Regions from separate parts of the Homo sapiens genome. Here all the other regions are linked to region 2. Evidence: promoter capture Hi-C in 16 types of primary human blood cells and fetal thymus (Javierre and others, 2016). All regions are on one chromosome and are shown on one strand. The core of a region is centred on a gene start or on the middle of the fragment in contact, and the rest is flanking DNA. Distances in the headings are between cores, read along the strand shown. Region 1 overlaps KAT6B (lysine acetyltransferase 6B). Region 2 holds the start of AP3M1 (adaptor related protein complex 3 subunit mu 1). Region 3 overlaps KAT6B (lysine acetyltransferase 6B).

What was found. The method cuts DNA at HindIII sites, captures the fragments that hold promoters and counts their contacts. A CHiCAGO score of 5 or more calls a contact.
Region 1: a fragment that was not itself captured here is called in contact with the fragment with the promoter of AP3M1 in region 2 in 1 of 17 cell types (fetal thymus); the score reaches 5.5 in fetal thymus.
Region 3: a fragment that was not itself captured here is called in contact with the fragment with the promoter of AP3M1 in region 2 in 1 of 17 cell types (fetal thymus); the score reaches 6.3 in fetal thymus.

The regions. Positions count from the first base shown.
Region 1 is chr10:74,966,734-74,971,817 of GRCh38, forward strand. KAT6B (lysine acetyltransferase 6B) reads left to right here. Exons shown (of 18, transcript NM_012330.4): 5 at 2,927-3,042; 6 at 3,287-3,368. Among named protein-coding and RNA genes, the nearest start is that of SNORD172, 52 kb to the right of the region's middle. The HindIII fragment of the contact is 1,366 bases long and covers 1,773-3,138 here.
Region 2 is chr10:74,148,675-74,153,588 of GRCh38, forward strand. It overlaps AP3M1 (adaptor related protein complex 3 subunit mu 1), which reads right to left and starts at 2,154. Exons shown (of 9, transcript NM_012095.6): 1 at 2,081-2,154. ADK (adenosine kinase) reads left to right here and starts at 2,547. Exons shown (of 11, transcript NM_006721.4): 1 at 2,547-2,669. The coding sequence starts at 2,605. RefSeq lists enhancers at 2,078-2,307, 2,718-2,897. The HindIII fragment of the contact is 5,595 bases long and covers 1,843-4,914 here.
Region 3 is chr10:74,833,617-74,838,333 of GRCh38, forward strand. All of the region lies in intron 1 of KAT6B (lysine acetyltransferase 6B), which reads left to right. Among named protein-coding and RNA genes, the nearest start is that of KAT6B, 9.4 kb to the left of the region's middle. The HindIII fragment of the contact is 1,919 bases long and covers 1,535-3,453 here.

The sequences.
Region 1 (5,084 bases), core at 1,206-3,705, 820 kb after region 2:
TAGAGGAAATTAGCTGGACGTGGTGGGGTGTGTCAGTAGTCCCAGCACTTTGGGAGGCCAAGGCTGGTGGATTCTTGAGGCCAGGAATTCAAGACCAGCCTGGCCAACATGGCAAAACCCCATCTCTACCAAAAAAATACAAAACAATTAGCCGGGCTTGGTGATGCGTGCCTGTAGTCCCAGCTACTCGAGAGGCTGAGGTGACAGCACTGCTTGAGTCTGGGAGGCTAAGGTTGCAGTGAGCCGTGATCATGCCACCGCACTCCAGCCTGGGCAACAGAGTAAGACCCTGTCTCAAAAATAAAAAAATAGGCTGGGCGCTGTGGCTCACACCTGTAATCCCAGCACTTTGGGAGGCTGAGGCAGGTGGATCACAAGGTCAGGAGATCAAGACCATCCTGGCTAACACAGTGAAACCCTGTCTGTACTAAAAATACAAAAACAAAATTAGCCAGGCATAGTGGCGGGCGCCTCTAGTCCCAGCTACTAAGGAGGCTGAGGCGGGAGAATGTCGTGAACCTGGGAGGTGGAGCTTGCAGTGAGCCAAGATGACGCCACTGCACTCCAGCCTGGGCAACAGAGCGAGACTCCGTCTCAAAAAAAAAAAAAAAATTAAAGTGTTAGAGGAAATTGTTGAGTTTATGAAATCGCTAAACCAGAGGTAAGGAATTACTTGATCAGTAGCATTGCTTTCCTTTATCTAATTACTATAGATTGTGCAGTAGTATATCAAGACACGTTACGGTCTTTTGTGTTATTTTAAAGTTGGCCATGAGAAAATAAAATGGAAATATTTCTTCATCCCTCAGCATCCTTTACAGAATCATAGAAATTTAGAACTGTAAGGGATCTATGGCCAATTCTCTTGAGCTAAATAAAGGTAAGATTGCTGCCTAAAGGAAAGATAGGCTGAAGATTTTAGAATTTGATAGGGTAGCTTAAATAGTAGTAGTTGAGATACAGTATTGCTTAAAGTGAGAGAAACCATTAAGAGAAAGAATATTCCTTGCCCCTGATTGAAAATGGCTGAAATCCACTAATTTTCAAACTGCATAATTATTAAAAAGTCTGTCTTTCATAAGATACCTGTGAGAATAAATAGTAAGCTGTAATATGATGTGAATTACCTTAGTTACTGAATATTAAGTCACAAAGTACAAAAGCAGATTTGAATGTAGAGAAAAATTCAGTGCGTGAAATTGAGGTCATATGTGCCCATGATATATGCCTTACAGGAAGTAATAAAAAAGAGGGGGGAAGTAAGTGGTATACTTTTAAGCTGATGGGATCCATTTTAAGGGTGGAATTTAAATTGCTGTTCTTTAAAAGTTAAGTTTTTACCCTCCTCACTATATAAGGGGACAGAGGGGAGGGCTCTGATCAAAGTAGACCTCTCCCCTCCCCGCTTCAGTGTGCTTCTTAGAAGTCGACAAGCAAGCTGTCTTTGTTTGCCGTTCCTGAGCAGAAAGAGGAGATTGATACCATTTTTATCTATTCAGACTTTTTCCTTGCATTCATTTGAATGAGAGAAGCCTCATAAAAGAACAGTGTCACAGGTTAAATGCATCTGCCTGGGTGTCTCTCCTGCCTGAGGTCATAATCCTGTGACAATATTTTATTTTCTCAACATCTTAAATACAGATGTTTAGAGTTTTTTTTTTTTAACTCAGGAATAGTGTGCTTTTATTAACGGTATTGGTGATTGATTTTGAATGTTTTTACTTCAAAAAGCCAAATCTCCTGGTGGGTGGAATTTTATGAAGCACCTGTTAAGCTTTAGGGAGGAGGACCTTTTTGGCAGCAATCCAAAATACATATTTAAACAATGAGCCTGCCAAAGTCAGGAAATTATAAAACAGTTTTGAAATTGCAGAATCTGCTTTTTTTTATTACCCCTCAGGTTTCCTTTGCAGCTTGGTTGTAAGTTCTTTCACATGGGATTTACTAATGTTCTTACTATTTAAAGACCAGGTTTAAAAAAATAAAATCAAGTTTGGAGATCTCTTCGGGTTTATGTGATAAAAGACCATTAGATTTTAAACTGTACAGCCTTCCAAAGAATCTAGGCTCACGCTCCGCACACCTCTTGGAGGAATCTATTACACACTGGCTCATGGCTGGCTCCTTTGAATGGCATTGCCCCTCAGGGTCTCCAGTTTTCCTCTGTGAAGTGAGCAGTAAGACCTGGTGTGTGGAGCGCTGCTAGGTGAAAAGTGTGCCCCAAACAGGAAAATGGGGGAACCTGCTGAGGCCACACTTCTTGGTGGGTCCTGTTTAACCTGGATCTCTCAGCTTCTTAACTCTGTCTCTCAAATTCACTGTTTTCTGCTCCTGCTTCCAGAGTTTAAACTCAGTGACCCAGGGGCAAGATGGCAATGGAATATCCTCTGTCTAGCCCAGCAATGGGATGTTCTTTGTGTGCTATTGGATTTGGGTGGGGGAGGGCATCTGTAGTTATGTTAAGCAGCCTCAATTTTTTATTTAGTTATCTGTTGAGTTTTATGATTTCATCACACACAGAGAGCAGGAATTGTTTGAACTTTGGCAACTCCCCTCAGTGTGTGGCAAACCAGGACCCCCTGGGTAGATGGTGGTTGATGAAGACGGCAAGTACAGGTGCAGGAGTAAGAATGCCTGAGCCTGTGTTATCTTCAAGTTCTCAAAGGCTTCAGATTGGAATTGGTATAAATTAAGTTCTCTTAGGGAAAACATTCGTACAGTCATTTTGTTACATACAGGGAAAGAAGGCAAGGGGAAAAGGCAGAAAGGAAAATCTGTAATTCGGATTCTCTGATCTGTTGGCATTTTCAAGTTCCTAAGGTTCATTGGCTAGCCTCATCAGCTATCTATTAAATATTAGGGAATGGGAGTTTAAAAAAGTCAAAGGCACCATTCCCATCAAGCAATTTGCTTTTTATTCTCATAGGACACCCATCCTGTTTGAAATTTTGTCCTGAATTAACAACAAATGTAAAGGCCTTAAGGTGGCAGTGCATCGAATGCAAGACATGCAGTGCCTGTAGAGTCCAAGGCAGAAATGCTGTAAGTATGGCTCCCGTAATCCGCCTCCAGGTAACTCGCTAATTTCCAGTGTTAAGGTGTTTTCATTTTTATAGAGTATGGCTACTTTCTTTCTAAAGCTTTAAATACACATGATGTCAAACTGCAACCAGGATCTTGGTGCACTTTCCTTATATTGTATTAATGTTAATCCAGTAACAAAAGAATTTTTGGCCTTTTACAGTTGGTTTCAGTCTCAATTAGTCTCTAATATGTTATATTACAGGATAATATGCTTTTTTGTGATTCCTGTGATAGAGGATTTCATATGGAATGCTGTGACCCACCACTTTCCAGAATGCCAAAAGGTGAACTTCTAAACTGTACTAAAAATGTATTTTATTACATATTGGTTAGCTTTGTCCTGAGGTCTGACAGCTCAGAGGTATACAGGTTCTTTAAGCATTTTTTTCATCCCTCCCACCTTCCCTATACTTCTGAGTTTAGCACAGGTTGTGAATAGAGGAGTATAAAAGCATAGAAAAAAATACATATATATATGTGTATATATATACATATATATAAAATAAAGGCTCTAATTCAGACCCAGGGATGAAAAGACCATCTCTCTCTCCAAACCATTCCCCTATTAGAATAAGATTAGATTATTAAGGTCAAAAGTTTAGAACACTTTCCATATTATTCAGCACAGTGTTAAGAGCTTAACAAATTTTATATTTTTGAGGATGATAGTGACTCCAAAGTCCTACAACAGGAAGCCATCACCATTTTCTTGGCCATTAGTTGATATTTTGAACACGAGCATCTGAATGATCTTATAGCTGATTGTGTCTGATGGAATGTGGATTTTCTTCTGTTTATTGTGTAAATCAGCTAAGCTCAGCCTTTTCCCCTCATTTTGCAATATATTAAACATTTAAAAATAACTTTGCCTTTTTATTATAAAATCCATAATTTACATTGTGGAAGATTTAAAAAGTACAGATAGACAAAAAAGGAATAAAAATAAAAATGAATTGGAAATTTCCTTCTCTGCCTTCACATACCCTTTGAAGGGAAATGGAACATTCTGTACATGTTTTTGTAATGTACTTTTTCCTCCCTCTTAATAGATTATAAGCATCCCCTACATCATTAAATATTCTCCTAAACATAGTTTTTAATAAGTATGTAGAACTCCATAGTATAGAGCAGGGATTACAAACCTGGCAACTATGGGTCACAGATATGCTTTGTTGGTACAATATTTTTACAAGTTTGAATCTGAGTCCTCTGGGTGGTGCGTGTGTGCTCCAGTTTGCCACAATCTCACTACTCCCTGCTGTCTTACGTTCCAATTTGCTTCAGTCACATACATTATACAATCTAGGTCCTTCCTGGAGGTATTTGATTTTCCAACCCTCTATATAAATGAACTCTAATTTATTTAACCAGTCCCTTAGGGTGGATATTACAAATGTTTCCAATTTTTTCCATCCACAATTATTTCCTTGAAATAAATTCCTAGAGGAGGAACTGTTGGATCAAAGGCTAGATACATGAAAGGCTGTATCAGTTTTCAGGCTGTCCAGCAGTATAGAAGGATACCTATTTTCCTGTATTGTGACCAGTACTCACCGTTACTATATCTCCTTGAGTCTAAGACACATTTTTTTAATGTTTTAATATTTTTGAAGTCAGATGCATCATACAGTATCTTAGATTTGATTAGAGTATTATTATTTTTAAAATTTTACCAGTTTGATAATAGAAATATGTCTGATTATTTCTTTTTAAGTAGTCAGATTGAACATTTCTTGTGTTTTATTCTTGGCTGTTTGTATATCATCTTTTCTAAAGTACCTCTTTTTATCCATTAATCATTTTTCTCTTGGGATTTTTACCTTTTTCTTCCTGATTTGCAGAAGCTCTTTTTTTGTGTGTAGTCATATTCATGAATCTTTTTATTTATGGCTTCAGTTTTAAATGTCAGTCATGCTTAGATTATATAAATATCCACATATCTTTCCTGGTACTTATAACATTTTATTTTTTCATATTACAATATTCATCTGTCTAGAATT
Region 2 (4,914 bases), core at 904-3,403:
ACCTCCTGAGTAGCTAGGACTACAACCACATGCCACAAAGCCTGGCTAATGTTTAAATTTTTTGTAGAGATGGAGTCTCGCTATGTTGCCCAGGCTGATTTCCAGCTCCTGGCCTCAAGTGATTTTCCCGCCTCACCCACCCAAAGTGCTAGGATTACAGGCGTGAGCCACCGCACTCCATCTGCCCATAGTATATTGGTTTGTTTTTTTTTTTTTTGAGACGGAGTCTTACTCTATTGCCAGGCTGGAGTGCAGTGGCGCAATCTCAGCTTACCACAACCTCCGCTTCCTGGGTTCAAGCGATTCTCCTGCCTCAACCTCCCGAGTAGCTGGGACTACAGGCACGTGCCACCACGCCCAGATAATTTTTATATTTTTAGTAGTGACGGGGTTTCTCCATATTTGCCAGGATGGTCTCGATCTCTTGACCTCGTGATCCACCCACCTCAGCCTCTCAAAGTGCTGGGATTACAGGCATGAGCCCTACCGTGCCTGGCCGTATATTATATTAAATGGTTAGAAATAAAAATCATAAGATTAAGTAAGAAAATATAATCTTGTTGCAAAGAGAGCTTTCCTAAAGATACGTAAGGTTTTTTTTTTTTTTTTTTTTTTTTTTTTTTTTTTTTTTTCGAGGCAGAGTCTCGCTCTGTCGCTCAGGGTGGAGTGCAGTGGTGAGGTCTCAGCTTACTGCAACTTCCGCCTCCCGGGTTCAAGGGATTCTCCTGCCTCAGCCTACCAAGTAGCTGGGACTACAGGCGTGTGCCACCACACCTGGCTAATTTTTGTATTTTTAGTAGAGACAGGGTTTCACTATGTTGGCCAGGTTGGTCTCGAACTCCTGACTTTGTGATCCGCCCGCTTCAGCCTGCCAAAGTGCTGAGATTACAGGCGTGAGCCACCGCGCCTGGCCAAGATTCGTAAATTAAGATAATTCTTCATTAACCTCATTCACTTCACTTCTCCTATAGTGTCAATTGAAAGTGTCCCTCTGTCTTTCCCAAATTAATCCTTTCACTTGTAACTTGATCCCATTCCTTTCCTTCTCTTCTGGGAGACAAGACTTTTTCTTGAATCTTCAAATAGTTGCTTGCTTCCTGCCCCCAAATAGATATCTTGTATTCTTTAAAACAAACCCCAAACTTTCCCCCACCTTGCCACTCTCAATAATCTTGCTTCATGCCCCAAATGATGAAGGATTGGTCTACACTTGCAGTCTTTCCTCAGTTACTATTAAAGCATCTCTCTCAAACAGCTCAATGACTTTCTAATTATAAAATCCAACGACCTATTCTGATTTCAGCTTCCTCCTCTGACCATTGCAGCATTTTATGTCATTGATAACTTTCTCCTAAACAAAAATACTTCTTACCCTTTTATATGAAACTTCATCTGTTTTGGGTCTCACCTTGAAAGTCTTTCGGGCTTAATTCTCATAATTTTTTTTAAAGTCTTTCTACAATCTCCATGTAAACCACTGTTTCAAATTCGATAAAACTCAAACTCCATAAAATACCTCCTCCTGTCACTGGCACCATCTTCTTAATCACACATAAGGCTGTAAGTTTCAGGTTCAAACAAATCTACCAAATACAAACAGCCACATCGCCCGTCACTCTTCCACACTCACTGCCACCTGCTCAGCTTAGAACCCCGTTACCTCTCTCCTGAAGAACTGCAACACCCTTCTCACTGCATTCCTCACCCCAGGCTCTTCCAGGCACCACCCGCTAACAGGACGTCTGCTCAGGTCCGTTTGGGGTTTTGTCCTCCAAAGCAGAAACCTGGGACTGAGATTCCTGCCGTCTGTACTCCAGCTCACTATAGAGGGGGAACCCAGTAAGCTTGACCTCCGGGGCTCAGGCGCCTGAGAACACTGGGCTGCAGGTGGACCGCTCCCTTCTGGCCTTGCTGGCGAGAAAGCCCGGAAGGCCGGGAGTGGGGGGGAAGCGAGGCCCGGGCCAACAGCACCAAAGACGCTCCTAGAGCCCAGATCGGAGTCGGGGGCCCCAGCTATTCAGCCTACTCCCGGGTTTTGGAGCTGTCCCCAGTCCACAGATTTCCCGCCCCTCACACTCACCCCAACACCTGTGCCAGTCAGTGATTCGGCGCCGGATCCTCTCCTACCGAAGCTGGAGAAGCCGAGAAGGCCGCGAGGACCCGCAGCTGGAGTGCCCAGGAAATTGCCTGATTAACAGCTTCAAAGACACCGACTCTGTCTACCGTATTAGAAATTTTAAATATGCAGGAAGACCGTAAATGAGAGGAAAGACGTCTCTTGAGGCTTAGTATCTAAATCTTCTACATAATCCAGGGCCTAGAAAAATGGTGGGTTTCTCTCCATCTAGATTCAGGCGGTCATCTGCTGCCTAACGCAGTCTGGGGTCCCTCATGGTAGGGGAGGCGGGGTCAGGAATGGGCGGGGCATTCGCTGTTGGTGCCGACGGATAGAGCCAATGATTGTGGATGACAGCGGCACAGAATGGGCGGAGTCTGGAGGGGCGGGATTTGGAGAAGAGAAAGCGGTGATGCGAAGAGGGGGCGGGACCAGAGAGTGGATGGCAGAGGTGGGCTGTAGAGCCAAAGTGGGGTGGGAGCGCGAAGATGGCAGCTGCTGAGGAGGAGCCGAAGCCCAAAAAGCTGAAGGTGGAGGCGCCGCAAGCGCTGAGGTGAGCGCTGCCGGACTTGGGGAGGAGGGTGACGGCGCTGCAAGCAAGCCAGGGCCCACGTGGGGTTGCACGGCCCCGACGCTGGGTGGTGTCTCTCACTGCCAGCTTGGGGCCAACACGCAGGACCTCCCCCAGCTGCCCGCTTGGCCGCGACCCCTTGCCAGACGTTCTCTCCGTTTGGCTGAGTCCCCGCCTGTCTGGTGCAGCTCCGGCTCCAGCAGCCCTTCGCCAGTCGTGGCCCGCAGGGGGACCGAGCTGGCTGACCGCGCCACCTGCGAGCAAGCCCAGGCTGGGCTGGTGCGACCCCGGAGGGTCGGACCGGAGCAGCGTCTGTAGGCGGCCGCCTTCTCTTCCCGGGGGATGGCGGGAAAGAGGCTCGGCAACTGCTGTACACTGGGGCAAAGTCAGAATTCTTGGGGATTTTTCAGAGTGTTGCGGAAGGGCACGTTGACCTTCCTTTTCGTGCACATTCTGAAAGCCCGTACCTTTGAGGACCCTCTACCAGGGACCCAGACCCCTCCGATGCTTTGCAGGGGCAGCATTTGGATGAATGGATAGGAAAGGTTGATTTCTCTTTTTTATTTACACTTTTTGGCAGCAACGGGGACAGTGCTGCCCCTAACACCTGCCTCACATGTGATTGATGTTGCAACTTTTACTTATGAAGAGTCATTTGTTAAAATATCCCTTCCTAATAAGTATAAAGTGAAGCAGGCAGTCTTTGATGATTTGGAAATGTTCGCTGAAAGGCAGCGATTTTTTTTTCCATCTTAAAATAGACATATCAAACTGATTTAAAACTATTAGGACACTCCTGATTAAACAGGACATATCCCATTTCTTCCAGTATCACTCTTCTTCACCTCCAAAGGAAGGAATCACTCACAATTGAAAAGAAAAGGACACTTAGGGGCCTGGTGGTGTGTTCATGCTGCTTTGAATGGAGGGTGAACAAATCCTTGCCAGTTCCTTTAATGTATTCCTACTACCCTCAAAGGGTTAGTGTGCCTACCTTATACCAAGAACATAAACTTTAAAATAAAAACCCTCAGGATATTCTATTTTTATTTTAAATATTCCAACTATATGCAGAATAAAAAGCAACGGCTTTTGAATCAGACCTACCTGAGTTCAAGGCATGTGCTTTCCCTACTCTGCCCTTTATTAGAGTATTTCCTTATAAGGCACCTCCTTCGCCAAACTGGAAGACAGATGCAACTTTTCCCTACCATCCTACTGAACATATAACCCTTAGATTTCCTTAGATTTTTCCTTAATAAAAATTATTATATATAATGCTGATCCATTTTCACTGTGTTTTCCTATTTATTATCTTGTTGGACAGTTCTGTGATCAAAGGAAGGCAAGAATTATGCCTATTTTACAATTGAAGATATTGAAGCCCAAATAAAACAATTAGTACAGGAACAGAAATAGGAACTAGCTGAGCATGTTTTCTTATACCTGCAGTCCTGGTGCTTTGTGAGGCTGTGGTGAGAGCATTCCTTAGGCAACTAAAATTCACTTTATACAATATGAATTTAGTGCCACCTGTAGACATGAAGTTAAAAGATTAGACACTTGAGTACTGGGACAAATCTCTAATTTTGTGGGGAGACATTTTAGGATCGGCTATTATTACTTTTATTATATTAATTTGCTTTCAGACTCAAAGTGTGATAATGCATTGAGTATTTACACTGAATTTATGATGACTTGCTTGACAGGGGATTGCTACTGGTTTTGGTTAAGGAGAATGGATTATAAAGACTTTGCATAATTTAATGTGCAGCATCAGTGGGAACAAATAATGAGATATATTTGTAGATGTCAGGAAAAATATTTAGATTTAGGGATTTGTGAGAATTTGGTCAGCTCTGGGATAATAATTCTCCACCAGGGGAAATTTTGCCCTCCAGGGGACATTTGGCGTGGTCTAGAAAGATATTTTTGGTAGGGAGAGCTATTGGCACCTAGTGGATGGAATTCAGGGGTGCTGCTAAACATGCTACATAGGACAACCCCCACAACAAAGAATTATCTGGCCAAATACGTCAACGGTGTTGAGGTTGAGAAATCTGTTCTAGAGGGAGCATCTGACAAGACTAGTCTGCCTTTCTCAAATATCTATTATTTTTCTAGGCTCGGTTGCTTTTCAGCATATAACAGTTGCTTATAAAGAAAGAATCAGGCTCTGACATGTTTTCACGTGGGATTAGGGGAAAGAAGGGAACGTTAATTGAGT
Region 3 (4,717 bases), core at 1,244-3,743, 690 kb after region 2:
ATTGATGGTTCAGTTATTGTTTGTTGAAGCACATTTACACAATTATAGTTTAATGACATAACAAGGATATTGTCAACTAGGAGAGCATGACATGAAAAATTAAACTTGCAATTAATATAATATGTATTAGTTGAAATGATAATTTTTATGGTGATTTAGCCTCTTAGAAATCCTTGGAAAACATTATTAGCTTATGAATTGAAAACTCTCTTTGTTAATGAGTAGTGGGAAAGAACTTAGTGTTACTCTAAAAAGATGGGGAATTAAATATTCAGTTCAACCAGCGTTTTATTGAGTGCCTGCTCTGGGCTTGCTGCTGAGTTAGGCTCATAAATATAAGTTGAACAAGATTGATGTTTGCAGAGATGAAATACTGGTTGCTTTTGTTTTTTCTTTCAATCACCCTTCCCTCCAGAGTAGATGGCTACTATTGCCAGAGTGATTCAAACATTCAACAGGTTTGTGTGTGTATGTGCATGCCCTTCCCTGTGCATTATGGTGTCACCTGCTCCTGCAGTGGCTTCCTATTCATCTGTCACGTTCACACACCACAGCTTGGCTTTTTTCACAGCCAACTTTATTTCTGTTTTTTTTTTTTTTGAGATGGATTCTGGCTCTGTTGCCAGGCTGGAGTGCAGTGGCGCGATCTCGGCTCACTGCATCCACCACCTCCGGGGTTCAAGCAATTCCCCTGCCTCAGCCTTCCGAGTAGCTGGGACCACAGGCATGCACCACCACGCCTGGCTAATTTTTTGTATTTTAGTAGAGATGGAGTTTCACCATGTTGGCCAGGATGGTCTCAATCTCCTGACCTCGTGATCTGCCCGCCTTGGCCTCCCAAAGTGCTAGGATTACAGGTGTGAGCCACTGTGCCTGGCCTATTTCTGTTTTTCATTTTTAAATTATATTTGTCTTTTTTAGAGACAGAGTCTTGCTCTATTGCCTAGGCTGGAGAGCAGTGGCACAATCATAGCCCACTGTGGCCTCAACCTCCTGGGCGGCTCAAGAGATCCTCTTGCCTCGGTCTCCCGAGTAGCTGGGTCTACAGGTGTACACCACCACAGCCACCTAATTTTTTATTTTTGTAGAGGTAGGGTCTTGTTGTGTTGCCTAGGCTTGTCTCGAGCTCCTGGCCTCAAGTAATCCTCCTTCCTTGACCTCCCAAAGTGCTGGGATTAGAGGCATGAGCCATTGTGCCTGGCCCAACTTAATTTCTTTATCCCTTTTGAGCATATACCTGTTCTAGTCAGGCACATGGACTTGGTGTCCCTTTTGTTTGACAGCTCATTCTTAGCTTCTGTTATTTCACTTTGATTTCCTTCATTCATTCCCCGATACATTTATTTAGCAAATAGGCATTGAAACCCTCTTATGATCAAGTTGTGGTCTTGGGAAATCTTAGGGTATACAAAGATGAATCAAGCATGAATCCTGTTTTTAAGAATTTTATAGTCTAGTAGGGGTGACAAGGTTAATACACAAGTAAGCATAATACTAAGTGGGAAATGAATGTCAAAACAGTAAAAAAGCTAAAAGCTTCCTGTTAGACAAAGATGTTTGGGGCTTTTGAGAAGTTGTTTGCACTGGGCCATGAAGGATTTGAATTTGGGCAGAGGGACGGTGGGGCACTTATCCAGGCTCAGCATTATCTTTCAAGGTTCAGTTTCAGTCCCATCCATCCAAGAGATGTTCATCCATCCTCCACGTGGTTTCAGCAAGGTAGTATAGTCACAGTTGTTTCCAGACTTCTTCCTTCTGTAATCAGAGGAACACTTCCTTTAAAGCGAATCTTATGGGGAAGACAAATATATGTAAAACAGTTAAAGTGGAGCTGCACTGTTGGGTTCAAGGTGCTGCAATGGCCCAAAGTTTAACCCACAAGGGGTACCTGAAGGTAATACCCGAAGTAACTCCTTGTCACAGAGATCTAAAGAGCCTAGTTTGAAAACCTCTGGAGAGACAGAAAGAGTTTGGGCTTTGGCATCTGAATTAAAATCCTTCATGACTTAATGGCTCTGAGATCTTGGCTAAGTCAAGCCTGTTTTCCTTTTGTAAAAACAACAATGCTACCTTACAGAGTTGTTTTAAAGTTTACTGATAATCTATGTAAAGTACCTGGACCACAGTAGGTGTCAGGAAATGGTTGGTATTATTATTATTATTATAGTTTAGTGCTTTGTTATTTCTTTTTTTTTAAACAATTTATTGAGGTGAAACTCACATAACATAAAATGAAAAAACCATTAAAAAGTGAACAAATCAGTGGCATTTAGTACATTCAGTGTTGTGTCACCACTGCCACTATCAAGTTCCAAAACATTTTTATTGATCCCAAATAAAACCCCTTACCCATTAAGCAGTTTCTCTAGATATGTCCCTGAGACTCCACCAATCTGTGTTTTGTCTATGGATTTATCTATTCTGGATGTCTCATATGAATGAAATTATATGATGTGTGGCCTTTTGTGTCTGGCTTCTTTCACAGCATAACGTGTTTGAGGTCCATCTACATTGTAGTAGCATGTATCGAAACTTCATTGCTTTTTATAGTTGTATAGTATTCTAGTGTATGGATATACCACAGTTTATCTGTTCATCTGTTGATGGACATTTGGGCTGTTTACACCTTTTGGCTACTGTGAATAGTTTTGTTATGAACATGGGTGTACGTGTACTTATTTGAGTATCTGTTCTCAATTCTTTTGAGTCTATACCTAGAAATGGAATTACAGAACCATATGGTAATTCTGTGTTTAACTTTTTGAGGAACCGCCAAACAGTGCTTTGCTATTTCTTAATTGCTTCTTATATGTTCTGTCTCTAGCTTTGCTTTGTATTCCCCATAGTACCTACCACAGGGCTGCATGCAGGGAGCATCAGCTCGCTAAATATTTGTTGGTTTTTCTTTGATTAGTATTTATAACCTCACCTCCCAGTTCACATGTTTTGGGCCTGAAGCATTGATTTCAGAGGAAATAGATGCATCCAGGATTTGAAAGATAAGAAATATCACCATATGGATGGCGTTTCATGTTGTCAGACAACAGATATTTGTTAACCAAGGACACTATTTTGAGCAACTCTGCCAATAACCTGAGCTGGGTGCTGATAGAAGAAAAATAAGTCAAGGTCCCTTCCCCTAAACAGTTCTGTTCTGTTTCGGAAGATACTGCTTAGATTTGTGGATGCTCACTCAGTTACACAATGGGCTTTGAAAAAATCCAGGTTTTCCAACAGTGATCCCTTTGGGGAAAAAAAAGAAAGAAAAAGCCAGGACTTATGAAAGTAAAATAGTTAAAAATAACTGTTAGCAAGTAAAACTCAGGATGACAAAAGTGTAAACTCTATTATTAATCTTTGTTTTTTTCTACCACTGTTTTTTGCCTCATCCATAATCTCATGACTTGAGTGTTATGACATTGATTTTGAAACAACACACACAGCTTTAGTAAAAGCTTAGAGGAGGCCTCGCATAATACTTATGATCCAGGATATTTTGACTCTTCTTATGCTGACATGAATATTTCTGAATAGTGTTGATGTTTATGTAATACCAGTGAAGCTAAAAGCTCAGTGCTGGACTAAGCATTTCTCTAGATATGTTTAGAATATTTGTAATGAATGATGTAAATAGTGTTATATTATAAGACCGTATGATACAACCATATAATTTACTGATATTTTGTAGTTAAAAATAAAATGATTCACAACCTTAGAAAATAGAATAATTTAATTTGATGTAGCACAAATCCCCAGAATTAATTTAGGATGATTTGCTACCTTTTTGATAGCCTTTTAGTCCAACCTTCAAGTTTTTATAGAAAAAAAATGAAAAGAGAATAATGATTTTAGGGTTTTCGCTTGTGATAGAATGTCCTATCTACATGTGAAGCAAATCCCCATGCTCTGAAAAAGAGAAATAGTGTGGATAATTCCAAATCAGGAAAAAAAAAATCATTTCTATTTGGCTTTTGAATGAATTATGCATTTTTTTTTCCTGTGGATTTGTCTTTCCAGTTAGATACTGCTTAGGCTAAAATGAAATTGGTTTTCAATCTATTCTCTTGCTTATATGAATTTACAGTGGGGCCAGTGGGATGTTGGAAACAAATCAGCCTAAGATTAAAAAATTTGCGGTGGATAATATACAAAGTGGATAATATACATGTGTTTAGTTGAGAATTGGCTACAGATAAGAGACTTCTGATTTTGTTCCTCTCCTAGCTGTGTATTTTTTTTTTTTTTTTGAACACTGTGATTCTGCTTGTAGCAAAGAGCTGCTGAGTTACATCTGCTTCTGCCTAATTAACTCTGTTGGTTGGTGTCAGATGAGAGCTAATTTTGAGATTAAATCGAGGAGTGGGGTGTGTGTCGTGGCTGGGGGAGGGGAGAAGGAGGATCCAAGGTTGCTTGATTGTTTTACGTAAGATCAAAATGCAGTTATTCACAATTGTTCTTTTAAATTTATTTTTTGCTTTTCAAGTAAAAATAATCACTGCTGTCCTAAAATGTGACTTGTGTCAATACATATTTACTATTATGTAAACTGGTACGTTTTTCTTGTAGGTGAGCTTATTGGTCATATCTGGGTAGTCCATTCAGTACCTAGGTGCCTGGTGGCCTTTGGGACAAACAGCGAATGCTGCCCAGGAATGTGAATGCTGACCTTAAAACAACTTTTGACTGTCTTTTTTTCTGATAAATGTTATATCTGTTT